Linked DNA regions of Homo sapiens: regions 1 and 2 are each linked to region 3. Evidence: promoter capture Hi-C in human tissues and cell types (Jung and others, 2019). All regions are on one chromosome and are shown on one strand. Each heading gives the region's core, a stretch centred on a gene start or on the middle of the fragment in contact. The rest is flanking DNA. Distances are from core to core; before and after follow the strand shown. Region 1 has its middle 11 kb from the start of THBS2-AS1. Region 2 overlaps LOC101929460 (a long non-coding RNA gene). Region 3 holds the start of PHF10 (PHD finger protein 10).

Evidence for each region. The method cuts DNA at HindIII sites, captures the fragments that hold promoters and counts their contacts. A contact is called where the count stands out against the background at its distance.
Region 1: a fragment that was not itself captured here is called in contact with the fragment with the promoter of PHF10 in region 3 in 2 of the 25 tissues and cell types used here (dorsolateral prefrontal cortex and mesenchymal stem cells).
Region 2: a contact is called between a fragment that was not itself captured here and the fragment with the promoter of PHF10 in region 3, in 2 of the 25 tissues and cell types used here (dorsolateral prefrontal cortex and mesenchymal stem cells).

Annotation. Positions count from the first base shown.
Region 1 is chr6:169,200,008-169,203,527 of GRCh38, reverse strand. No RefSeq gene overlaps it. Among named protein-coding and RNA genes, the nearest start is that of THBS2-AS1, 11 kb to the left of the region's middle. The HindIII fragment of the contact is 4,562 bases long and covers 1-3,520 here.
Region 2 is chr6:169,030,861-169,034,324 of GRCh38, reverse strand. It overlaps LOC101929460 (a long non-coding RNA gene), which reads left to right. Exons shown (of 2, transcript NR_134622.1): 2 at 1-154. Among named protein-coding and RNA genes, the nearest start is that of LINC01615, 130 kb to the left of the region's middle. The HindIII fragment of the contact is 5,289 bases long and covers 1-3,464 here.
Region 3 is chr6:169,722,439-169,725,998 of GRCh38, reverse strand. It overlaps PHF10 (PHD finger protein 10), which reads left to right and starts at 1,499. Exons shown (of 12, transcript NM_018288.4): 1 at 1,499-2,154. The coding sequence starts at 2,068. It also overlaps a transcript of DYNLT2 not described here. RefSeq lists an enhancer at 834-1,376 and silencers at 1,308-1,607, 1,678-1,917, 2,018-2,397. The HindIII fragment of the contact is 6,446 bases long and covers 1-2,618 here.

The sequences.
Region 1 (3,520 bases), core at 644-3,143, 520 kb after region 3:
TTTAAAATTGTTAATTTAACATTATGTGAATTTCACTTTAATAAGAAAAAAAGAGGCTGGTGTGGTGGCTCACGCCTGTAATCCCAGCACTTTGTGGAGCCAAGTTGGGTGGATCACCTGAGGTCAGGAGTTTGAGACCAGCCTGTCCAACATGGTGAAACACCATGTCTACTAAAAATACAAAAAAAATTAGCCGGGTCTGGTGGCAGACACCTGTAATCCCAGCTACTCAGGAGGCTGAGGCAGGATAATTGCTTGAACCCAGGAGGTGGAGGTTGCAGTGAGCCGAGATCACACCACTGCACTCCAGACTGGGCGACGGAGTGAGACTCCATCTCAAAAAAAAAAAAAAGAAAGAAAAAAATGGGAAGCAATCATAACTATAGTAAACACTCAGTAAATGAAATTGTCAGACTAATAAACTCACCTTAAGACATTTCTTTTTCTTTGAGCAAAGGCCTAAGCCTTTAGGCCTAAACATATATCATCTTATACATATAAAATTAACAGTTTCTGAGAACCTAGTGTACAGAACAGTGACTACATCTCAAACTAATGTATAATGTATTGAATACTTAAAATTTGCGGAGAGTAGATCTTGTATTCTCACCACATGCATGCACACGCACCCAGTAACTATGTAAGGTGATAAACACGTTAAGCAGCTGTACTGGGGTCAACATCTCACAGTGTATACGTATAGAACCATCACATTGTACACCTTGAATGCAAACAATGTTCATTTACCAATGGATATGGTTTGGATCTGTGTCCCCGCCCAAATCTCACGTCGAATTGTAATCCTCAGTGTTGGAGGTGGGGCCTGGTGAGAGGTGAATGGGTCATGGGGGTGGAGCTCTCATGAATGGGTTAGTGCCATCCCCTGGGTGCTGTTTTTGTGATAGTGAGTTCTCGTGAGATCTGGTTGTTTAAAAGTGTGTGATACCTCCCTTTCCCTCCTTCCTCCTGCTCCAGCCATGTACGATGCGCTGGCTTCCCCTTCGCCTTCTGTCGTAATTGTAAGTTTCCTGAGGCCTCCCCAGAAGTTGAGCAGCATCATGCTTCCTGCATAGCCTGCAGAACCGTGAGCCAATGCAACCTCTTCTTTATAAGCTACCCAGTCTCAAGCATTTCTTTATAGCAGTGTGAGATCAGCCTCAAACACCAAGTATCCCTCAATACAGCTGAGAAACCAAGGTAAGCATGTGGACCACGGCAGACCAGGCCATGAGAAGTCCCGAGTCTCCCTGCTCCCCCAGGTCCACCTGTTCTCACGCCTGCTGCTCTCCGGTGGTGATGCAGACGTGGAGGGAAGACTACACTCTGGAGTGGGGCGGCCACATGTGATGTCAGCTTCACCACGCCACCCACACTGTAACTTATGTTCACTGAGCCTCACTGCTCCCGTCTCTAAGATGGGAACACACTGTCTGCCTCCCTGAGTTTCCACGAGGCCAAATGAGGCTGTGTATTTAATGCACGCGTGTGCACAGCACAGAGTTTCCCACACGTGTGTGTTCTTTTCCCTCCACTCTGCTTTTGTGCACAGACAAGTTTCAAGAGGCAGAGGAGAAGCAGCCGCGGGAGGCCTGCGCTGGAGGCAGAGCAGTGCAGGTGGCTGCCTGAGTCTGCTGCCTCTGTTTGCGAAGGAAGCGCTAGAAAAGTAGCTAAGGAGAAAATTGTAGGCTGAGGATCTTCATTCTGAGCGATGTTGGGCCTCCTGTGGCCTCCCCTAAATTTTCCCAGGGCCCCTCTGCTAGGCCCTCTGCAGTTCCCATCGGGGGTCTGCACCGTGCGACTAAAGGTATGGACTCGTCACATTCTCACGGAGATTCTCCACCCGCTGCCAGGCTCCCGGGATGCTCCATACTGGATTATTCTATATACAGTGCCTTTTGTTTTTCTGGCTGGTGATTCCATTGCTTTCATTGTTTCTTGAAGGGGTCATGATCTTAAAATTTCTAAAAACTGTTGTATTGGACAGAATGTTTCTTGACATACCATAGCGCTTCGTGTGTGTATGTGTGTGTACGTATATTCAGTGACTGAAGGCTGTGTCCAGCCCTGAGTAGATGCTACATGCCCATTACATTTTTTAAATCATTCCTGTGTTCACTACCTATTTCTGGGTCTCACATGAGGAAGCTGGGGCTCAGAATCGTGGAGGCCCTGTCTGAGGTCCCTCAGCCCGTGCCCAGCTGTGGCAGCACAGGGATTCTGGACCTCACAGCCCACAGGGATTCTGGACCTTGCCGTGGGTGCTGTGTTGTGTGTCTCATCCAACAGCGCAGACCAGATGTGCTGAGGACGTTCTGCCGGAGAGCAAGCTCAGGAGCATCTGGAGTTTTCTTATGAGGAATTCCACCATCTTGCCAGTTTGGATTTTGGGAAGCCGCTCTTTCCTGCCAGAGTAATCATGCTTTCTTTTGATGAGGAATGAGGGTGGGAACTACCAAGCTGGCTTTTGGGATGGATGGTGTTGTTGGCCAGGGCTCCCGGGCTGTGTCCAGAGGGCTGTTTGATGGCTTCACCATCTGCCCGTCTCTTTCTTGGCCTCTCAGGAGCAGAGTGGGGCTTCGTGGCTTCACTGGAGGAGAATGTGCTTGCCCCAGCTGGAATCCTGGCATGTCTAAATGTTAGTGCATCTTATACCACCCAAAGCTTAGCTCAGTTCAATTGTTGCCTGGGTAGGTAATGATTACACATCCTCTGTGTACCTGGGGAGGCTGATGGCATGAGGGTAGGACTCCTGCCCGAGGTAGGGATGAGTAAATTCCAGGGTGTCCACTGCCTGGCTTTTGGGTGCCTCCAGGTTCTCACGTGTGGAGTGAGGATGCCCATTTCAGCACCTGACTGAGTGTTTTGATGCCAGAATGACGGGACATGGGTGAAGCTGTTTGCAGATTCCCTCACACATAATATGCAGTCAGTGAAATTTAATTATTATTTTTTATTTGCAGAGAAGTATGTTATTGACCTCACCTTTGAGGAAATGTGAAGCTTTTTGGGAGCGTGTATCGTGTTGAGGCTGGTGAGCACAGGGGGCCATGTCCCTCAGTCTGGCCCAGCCACTGACTGCTTGTGTGTCCCTGGGAAAGTCACTAGCTTCCCCTGGGCTTCAATTTCCTCATCTGTGATATAGCAGAAATAATATATTCCTCATGGGGCTATTGTAAGAATTAAATTAATTCAATAGAAGAAACAAAATGGCTAATTTGAGGTGTTTTGGAGTAGCTATTAGATGAATAATAAAATGGCTAGCGGGAGCTAGAGGGTGGGCAGAGGGGTTTGGGGGAGGGAGCTGTGCATAGAACCCCCCTTGGAGAGGGCGATGGAGAGTGGGGGCAGGAAAGCGCCCACCCAGGGAGAGTTGCATTGAAGACGCAAGGCAGGGTCCAGCTATGGGGAGTTGGAAAAATGCTTCCCAGAGGAATGGGAACTGACACAGAGTCACATGTGCCTGGAGCTTGGGCCCTACTCACGCTTGCCCCTAACCCAGTCCATCAACTGTGTATAGAGC
Region 2 (3,464 bases), core at 645-3,144, 690 kb after region 3:
ACAGCCTGCAGAACTGTGAGCCAATTTAACCTCTTTTCCTTATAAATTATGCAGCCTCAGGTATTTCTTTACAGCATTGCAATAACAGGCTAATGCATGGATCATCAAGAAGATGGATTTCCACATTTGATTAAATAATATGCAGCTAATTGGCCAATAGAGTGATTGTGCTTTATTGATCCTTTCCTACTAGGGTACGGTCTATTTGCAATCTGAGACAGCTTCTTACAAAGCAAGTTAATTATTTATTGACCACAGCATACTAAGCAGACATCTGTTTTTTTGCATCCGTCCATCAGGATACTCTTAGCAATGCTTGAGCATACTTGGTAGCCGACTCCAAGCAGTGCAAGAAAGTGCAGTCACTTTTATTTTATCCTGGAGTTATCTGCCTTAGTCCTCATCCCTATGGAAGTCTCTTCCCTGGCTGTGAACTGCCTCATTTGATTCCCTGGATTTTTAGTCTCTGTTGCTGCCCCCAGGCTACACATCAGATGAGTGCCCTTGACCTTGAAGGATGGGAAGACCACAGCAGTTGAGCTTCAATGACCCCCATTGCCACTTCACTCTCCAAGCTGGCCATTGCTTTTCATAAAGCACCGCAAAACTTAGTGTCTTTAAAAACAACACTAAATCACATTGTTCTCAAATCGAGCGTTCTTAGGGTTCAGGTCATCAGCTCACCCCAGGGGAATGTTGGACAACTGAGTCTGCAGCCATCTGTACAATGATGAAACCAAGGTTGAGCATCTTGGGAGGAGTGTGGGGTAGAAAGGTAAAACACAGTTCCTGGTTGGATTAAGGAAGGCACACGGTGACAGGATTTGGCAGCCCACTGGGGATGTCTGGCCATGTCTAAGGTTTGGAAGATGACAATTCTTTTTTTTTTTTTTAGAGTATTTTATTTTATTTTATTTTATTTTTCAGTAACTTCTTTTTTTAAATTAATTAATTTATTATTATACTTTAAGTTTTAGGGTACATGTGCACATTGTGCAGGTTAGTTACATATGTATACATGTGCCATGCTGGTGTGCTGCACCCACTAACTCGTCATCTAGCATTAGGTATATCTCCCAATGCTATCCCTCCCCCCTCCCCCCACCCCACAACAGTCCCCAGAGTGTGATATTCCCCTTCCTGTGTCCATGTGATCTCATTGTTCAATTCCCACCTATGAGTGAGAATATGCGGTGTTTGGTTTTTTGTTCTTGTGATAGTTTACTGAGAATGATGATTTCCAATTTCATCCATGTCCCTACAAAGGACATGAACTCATCATTTTTTATGGCTGCAGAGTATTCCATGGTGTATATGTGCCACATTTTCTTAATCCAGTCTGTCATTGTTGGACATTTGGGTTGGTTCCAAGTCTTTGCTATTGTGAATAATGCCACAATAAACATACGTGTGCATGTGTCTTTATAGCAGCATGATTTATAGTCCTTTGGGTATATACCCAGTAATGGGATGGCTGGGTCAAATGGTATTTCTAGTTCTAGATCCCTGAGGAATCGCCACACTGACTTCCACAATGGTTGAACTAGTTTACCGTCTCACCAACAGTGCAAAAGTGTTCCTATTTCTCCACATCCTCTCCAGCACCTGTTGTTTCCTGACTTTTTAATGATTGCCATTCTAATTGGTGTGAGATGGCCACACATCTCATTGTGGTTTTGATTTGCATTTCTCTGATGGCCAGTGATGATGAGCATTTTTTCATGTGTTTTTTGGCTGCATAAATGTCTTCTTTTGAGAAGTGTCTGTTCATGTCCTTCGCCGACTTTTTGATGGGGTTGTTTTTTTTTTTCTTGTAAATTTGTTTGAGTTCATTGTAGATTCTGGATATTAGCCCTTTGTCAGATGAGTAGGTTGTGAAAATTTTCTCCCATTTTGTGGGTTGCCTGTTCACTCTGATGGTAGTTTCCAATAGATGCAGAAAAAGCCTTTGACAAAATTCAACAACCCTTCATGCTAAAAATTCTCAATAAATTAGGTGTTGATGGGACGTATCTCAAAATAATAAGAGCTATCTATGACAAACCCACAGCCAATATCATACTGAATGGGCAAAAACCGGAAGCATTCCCTTTGAAAACTGGCACAAGATAGGGATGCCCTCTCTCACCACTCCTATTCAACATAGCGTTGGAAGTTCTGGCCAGGGCAATTAGGCAAGAGAAGGAAATAAAGGGTATTCAATTAGGAAAAGAGGAAGTCAAATTGTCCCTGTTTGCAGATGACATGATTGTATATCTAGAAAACCCCACTGTCTCAGCCCAAAATCTCCTTAAGCTGATAAGCAACTTCAGCAAAGTCTCAGGATACAAAATCAATGTACAAAAATCACAAGCATTCTTATACACCAACAACAGACAAACAGAGAGCCAAATCATGAGTGAACTCCCATTCACAATTGCTTCAAAGAGAATAACATACCTAGGAATCCAACTTACAAGGGATGCGAAGGACCTCTTCAAGGAGAACTATAAACCACTGCTCAAGGAAATAAAAGAGGATACAAACAAATGGAAGAACATTCCATGCTCATGGGTAGGAAGAATCAATATCGTGAAAATGGCCATACTGCCCAAGGTAATTTACAGATTCAGTGCCATCCCCATCAAGCTACCAATGCCTTTCTTCACAGAATTGGGAAGATGACAATTCTAATCGCCCCAGACTGGGGAACTCAATATTTACCTAAGTGTTTTTCAATCAGCTCTGGCTCTGTTGCAGGGAGCGGTGATGCTGAGGAAGTCAGAGGCAGGGGAGATAAGTGTCGGTGGAAAGGAGCATTTTGAGCAGGACTGTGCTTCTGGGTGCTGCACAGTGTGCTAGGTCTGAACTCATGATCCATGAGACAAAACGGGGAGGGCAACATGAATTCGCTCAGGCATACTTCCCTTCAGCCACAGGGCAGGAGGGTGAAGAAACCCAGGGAGGTGCACAAAGTCACTCCTGCACATGCAGACACAGGGAACAGCACCAAAGCAGAAACCACTTCTTGCCGACAGAAGAGGCATTTTCCCCTGCATGGCAGCTTATTCTTTACACAGGCACAGAACTTATTTAGACATCTGCCACATTTGGACTTCAAACTCAGCTATTTTACCAGAGATGTTTAAATTAGGAAAAGCCATGATCTATTCGAGCTTGGGACAAAAATAGCATTTGCTGTATTTGCAGATTTCTCCAGCCAATTTAATGATTGTCTTTGCAGTCAGGTGTATGTCCCAGGACTTTTTCTGCCTTCCTTTCTGCTTGAAAGCTAGTTTCCAGGCAAAATTTTCCTCTTTTGAAAAGCTATAATTACGTCAAGAAACCCTGGGTAAGTTATGCTCATTTACTTTTATTGTGGCAGTTGAAGGTTTGAGGTGCACGATTGCTAATAAAATATCAAGGCGTCACATTTCAACTGCACTTTTTCCAAGAGTAAGTCTGGCGCTTTTCGAAGCTGCAAG
Region 3 (3,560 bases), core at 250-2,749:
TAAGGGGTTTAAAAGGAAAAACGAGGAGGATTACGTAAGTTGTTTTGAAACAATTATCCTTGGCTACAAAGATCAGTAACAAAGGGGATGGCCAGTCCAAGGTTGGACAGGCAGTTGCTGCGCAAATGTCCTTGAAGCATTTTTTTGTGTAGTTTTGTGGCCTTTGTGCAAGGTTGTGGTTTTGGCAGTCTTTTGTGCTAATTCTTTATATCAGGCAATTATTAGTGAGAACTTTCCCATCACGGCTTTCCCTGACTCCATTCTCTGACAGCTTTCACAATCTAGAGACAGAATCCCGGAGGGAGAGGAGTACCAAATAGCTTAAGAGTTTTTTTTTGTTTTTGTTTTTTTTCTTAAAAAAAAAACCGCTAAACTCTACCCTGATCAGTGAAAAGAATTTAGCTGAAAGATGCAGTTTCTTCTTGGCAGATTCAGACAAGAAGTGCGGCGGAAGCTTACACCTGCACGTGGTGGGACAGAGGCAAGAACGGATGGTCTGGCTGAGGCTGAGAGAACCAAGCTGGATTAGGATCGGCTTGAGGGCCCGGCGTCGTCAGTGGTGACCTCTCTGACCTGAGGCAAGTGAGTCAGGCTGGACTGAGCGTGTTAACGTCGGTGTTTGTCAATGTGACGCGCTAGAATAATCCCTTTATCTTTCCCAACTTTTGTTTGTTGAGTGTAGGCAACTATAATGAATGGAAAGGAAACCGGATTGTACTTTAAATCCGAGAACATTCTCTACTCTCCAGAACAAGTCATCTGCAGGCGCAGGCAGTGGAATCCGTGAGGCCAGCTGTACGGCGGGCCGCCCCGGACCCAGGCTTGGCTCCTCACTTTCCGCTGTTTTTAGTGCGGTCCTACAAGTGCCCTGGTGCAGCCCGAGATCAGTAATAAATGCAGCTGAAATACACCGGCTCCCACGTTCTCGCGGGGGTACCTGCCAGGCCGGCGTCCACGCTCCTCCCCGGCTCCCGGCCGACCGCGTTCTCGGCGGAGGCATCAACCACGCGGGCACGCAAAGCCACGAGGGCCGAATCTCAGCGACTTCTTCCCGCTGTGCCTCCCGCACGCTCCGGGGCGGGCGCCGACAGCCCCCGGGTGCAGCTGCGGATGCTCGGGGAAGCGTGGCCTGGGCAGGTGGCTCCGCTGCTCTCTCGGAGCGCCACCAGCGAGAGGGGCGACCCGAGAACAAAGGCGGGAGAGGAGCGGCGACCGCGAGCGCGTAGAGGCGGAGGCCGCGCAGTCTCCGCGCGACTGCTCCGGGCAGGGCGACCCCCGGCAGAGAGGGGGCGGGGCGGGGACCCCCGGGAGGGGCGGGGAGGGGCGCGGCGGGGGCGCGGAGAGAGGGAGGGAACGAGGGTGACGCGCGGAGGGGCCGGGCCGGGGGCCGCGGGGAGGGGGCGGCTGCGAGCGCGCCAAGTGGCGACGTGCCGGGCCGGGGCGGGCCGGAGGGCGGGCGGGAGGTGGGGCGCGCCGGGGGCTGGGGGGAGCCGCGGCCGAGTACAACGCCGGGCCGTGGGGAGCCAGGCGGCGGCGGGGCTGAGGCGGCCGCGGGGCTGAGGGGAGCGGCGGGGCTGAGGCGAGCGGCGGGGCTGAGGCGAGCGGCGGGGCTGAGGCGGCCGCGGGGCTGAGGCGAGCGAGCGGCGGGGCTGAGGCGAGCGAGTGGCGGGGCTGAAGGGAGTCGCGGCGGCGCTGAGGCCAGCGGCGGAGCTGTGGGGGGCAACGGTGCTGAGGCGGTGGCCGCGGCCGGGCGGGTTGGGCTGACGTGAGAAGCGCCGCCGCCGCTGGGCCTCCTCCATTCCGGCCCGCAGCCCCGCGCCCTCCCAGCCTTTGGCGCCCTCCCGCGCGGGCGGCGCGCTGGCGACGGCCATGGCGGTGGCGGCGGCGCTGGCGGGCCGCGGGGCGCGCGGCGGCAGGGGCCGGCCCCCGGGCGGGCGGGCGGAGGGGGCGGGGCCGGGGCGGCGGGGGGCCCGCGCGGCGGCGGCGGCGGCGGCGGCGGCAGCGGCGGCGGCGGCCGGGACAAGGCGGAGGCGACGGCGGCGGCGGCGGCGCGGGGCGCTCGGGCTGATGGCGGCGGCGGCCGGGCCCGGGGCTGCGCTGTCCCCGCGGCCGTGCGACAGCGACCCAGCCACCCCCGGAGCGCAGTCCCCGAAGGTGAGGAAGCGGCCGGTGCGACCCGACCCTGACCCCGTCCCGGGCCTGGGTGCCGGGGCGTGGGCCCAGTCCCACCGGCGGCCGCCCAGCGTCTCGGGGGCGTGGGCCCAGGCCGGGCGCCGCGCCTGAGACCGGGGGTGGTCGGCGAGGCGGGGCCCCGAGGTGAGCCCGCGGCCTCTAGCGAGCAACAAGTGCGGGCGGGCGGGGGACGCGGCGCGGCTTCCCCGAAGTTGGCAGCCGGCCCTGCTTGACAAGCTTGTCCCCAAAACGCCTCCTCCTAGGCCAGCCGTGGGACGGAACGCGCCCGGGGCCGAGAGAGTTGGCCTCGGAGGGGCCTGCAGAAGCGCGCGTTCGCTCAGCGTTCATTCCGCGCATAGTTTGCCGAAGTGTTTGAACGCTTACTGCAAAAACCGAGTGGCGAACGATATGGAAAATCAACACACTCAGTGAACTTACTGTAATAACTAAGTTAATACGCAAGCGTCCGGATGTTTTCAGCGGAAGTCTGTTAAAACTTTTTACTGCTTGAGGAGGTGAAAAGAAATTGGTGCTTGTGGAGAAAATGGAGATGAGCAGTAGTGTCACGCATCAAAACGTTTTGGTTCTAAAGTTAGGCTAGCAGTTTGTGACAGAAAGTTGGAAGGGAGGAATGATGTTTTAAAAGCCTGGAAGCTTGAAATTGGATTGAAATTAGAAGGCGGTGGGAACTGGAATGCTGCAGAGCCAGCCAGCCTTCGTGCGGTGCGCGGTGTGCCGTGTGCGCGTTGGCAGGGGAAGCCGTCCTGTAGCAGCCTAGCCGGGCTGCGCCTGCTTGGGAGCTTTTCCCGTTGCGCACGTCCACCGTGCTGTGAGACTCATTTTGAAGGTTCCTCAAAGGCTGTCGTCAATGGAAGTAACTAGATTGTAAGACTCTGAATGCACATCCTTGCACTTCCAGCATTTGACGTCTGGCCCGGCACCTGGAGGGCACTGAGCCAGTGCCCCCTGAGTGCATTCTTGACCCCTGAGCCCTAGGAAGGATGTGATGCATAGAAATTCATCTGATCTGTAGTTGGAAACCACCTGTAACTCTGGAAGGCACATCTCTGATTTAGTATGTTTGGGAGTCTTTGAAAACATGGGCCTCTGTATCAGTATTGCGGTTACACGGAAATTCTTACCTTATTCCGTCATGTATTGGGAACAATATTGCTGTTACTACCTCCCTCAAGAAAAAGGCCCGCTGCCCAGATGCTCACTTTATATAATAATGCCTTTGCCTAGAATTTGTAGTAGTAATTTAAAACACTTGATGAAATTGTAGTCTCAGCTTTTTTGAGCACTTTGCATTTTTAACTTTATTTTTGTATATTTTTGAGTGTCTCAACTTTTTAGCTAAAGGAAAATGTTTTTAAGTTTAAGGATAT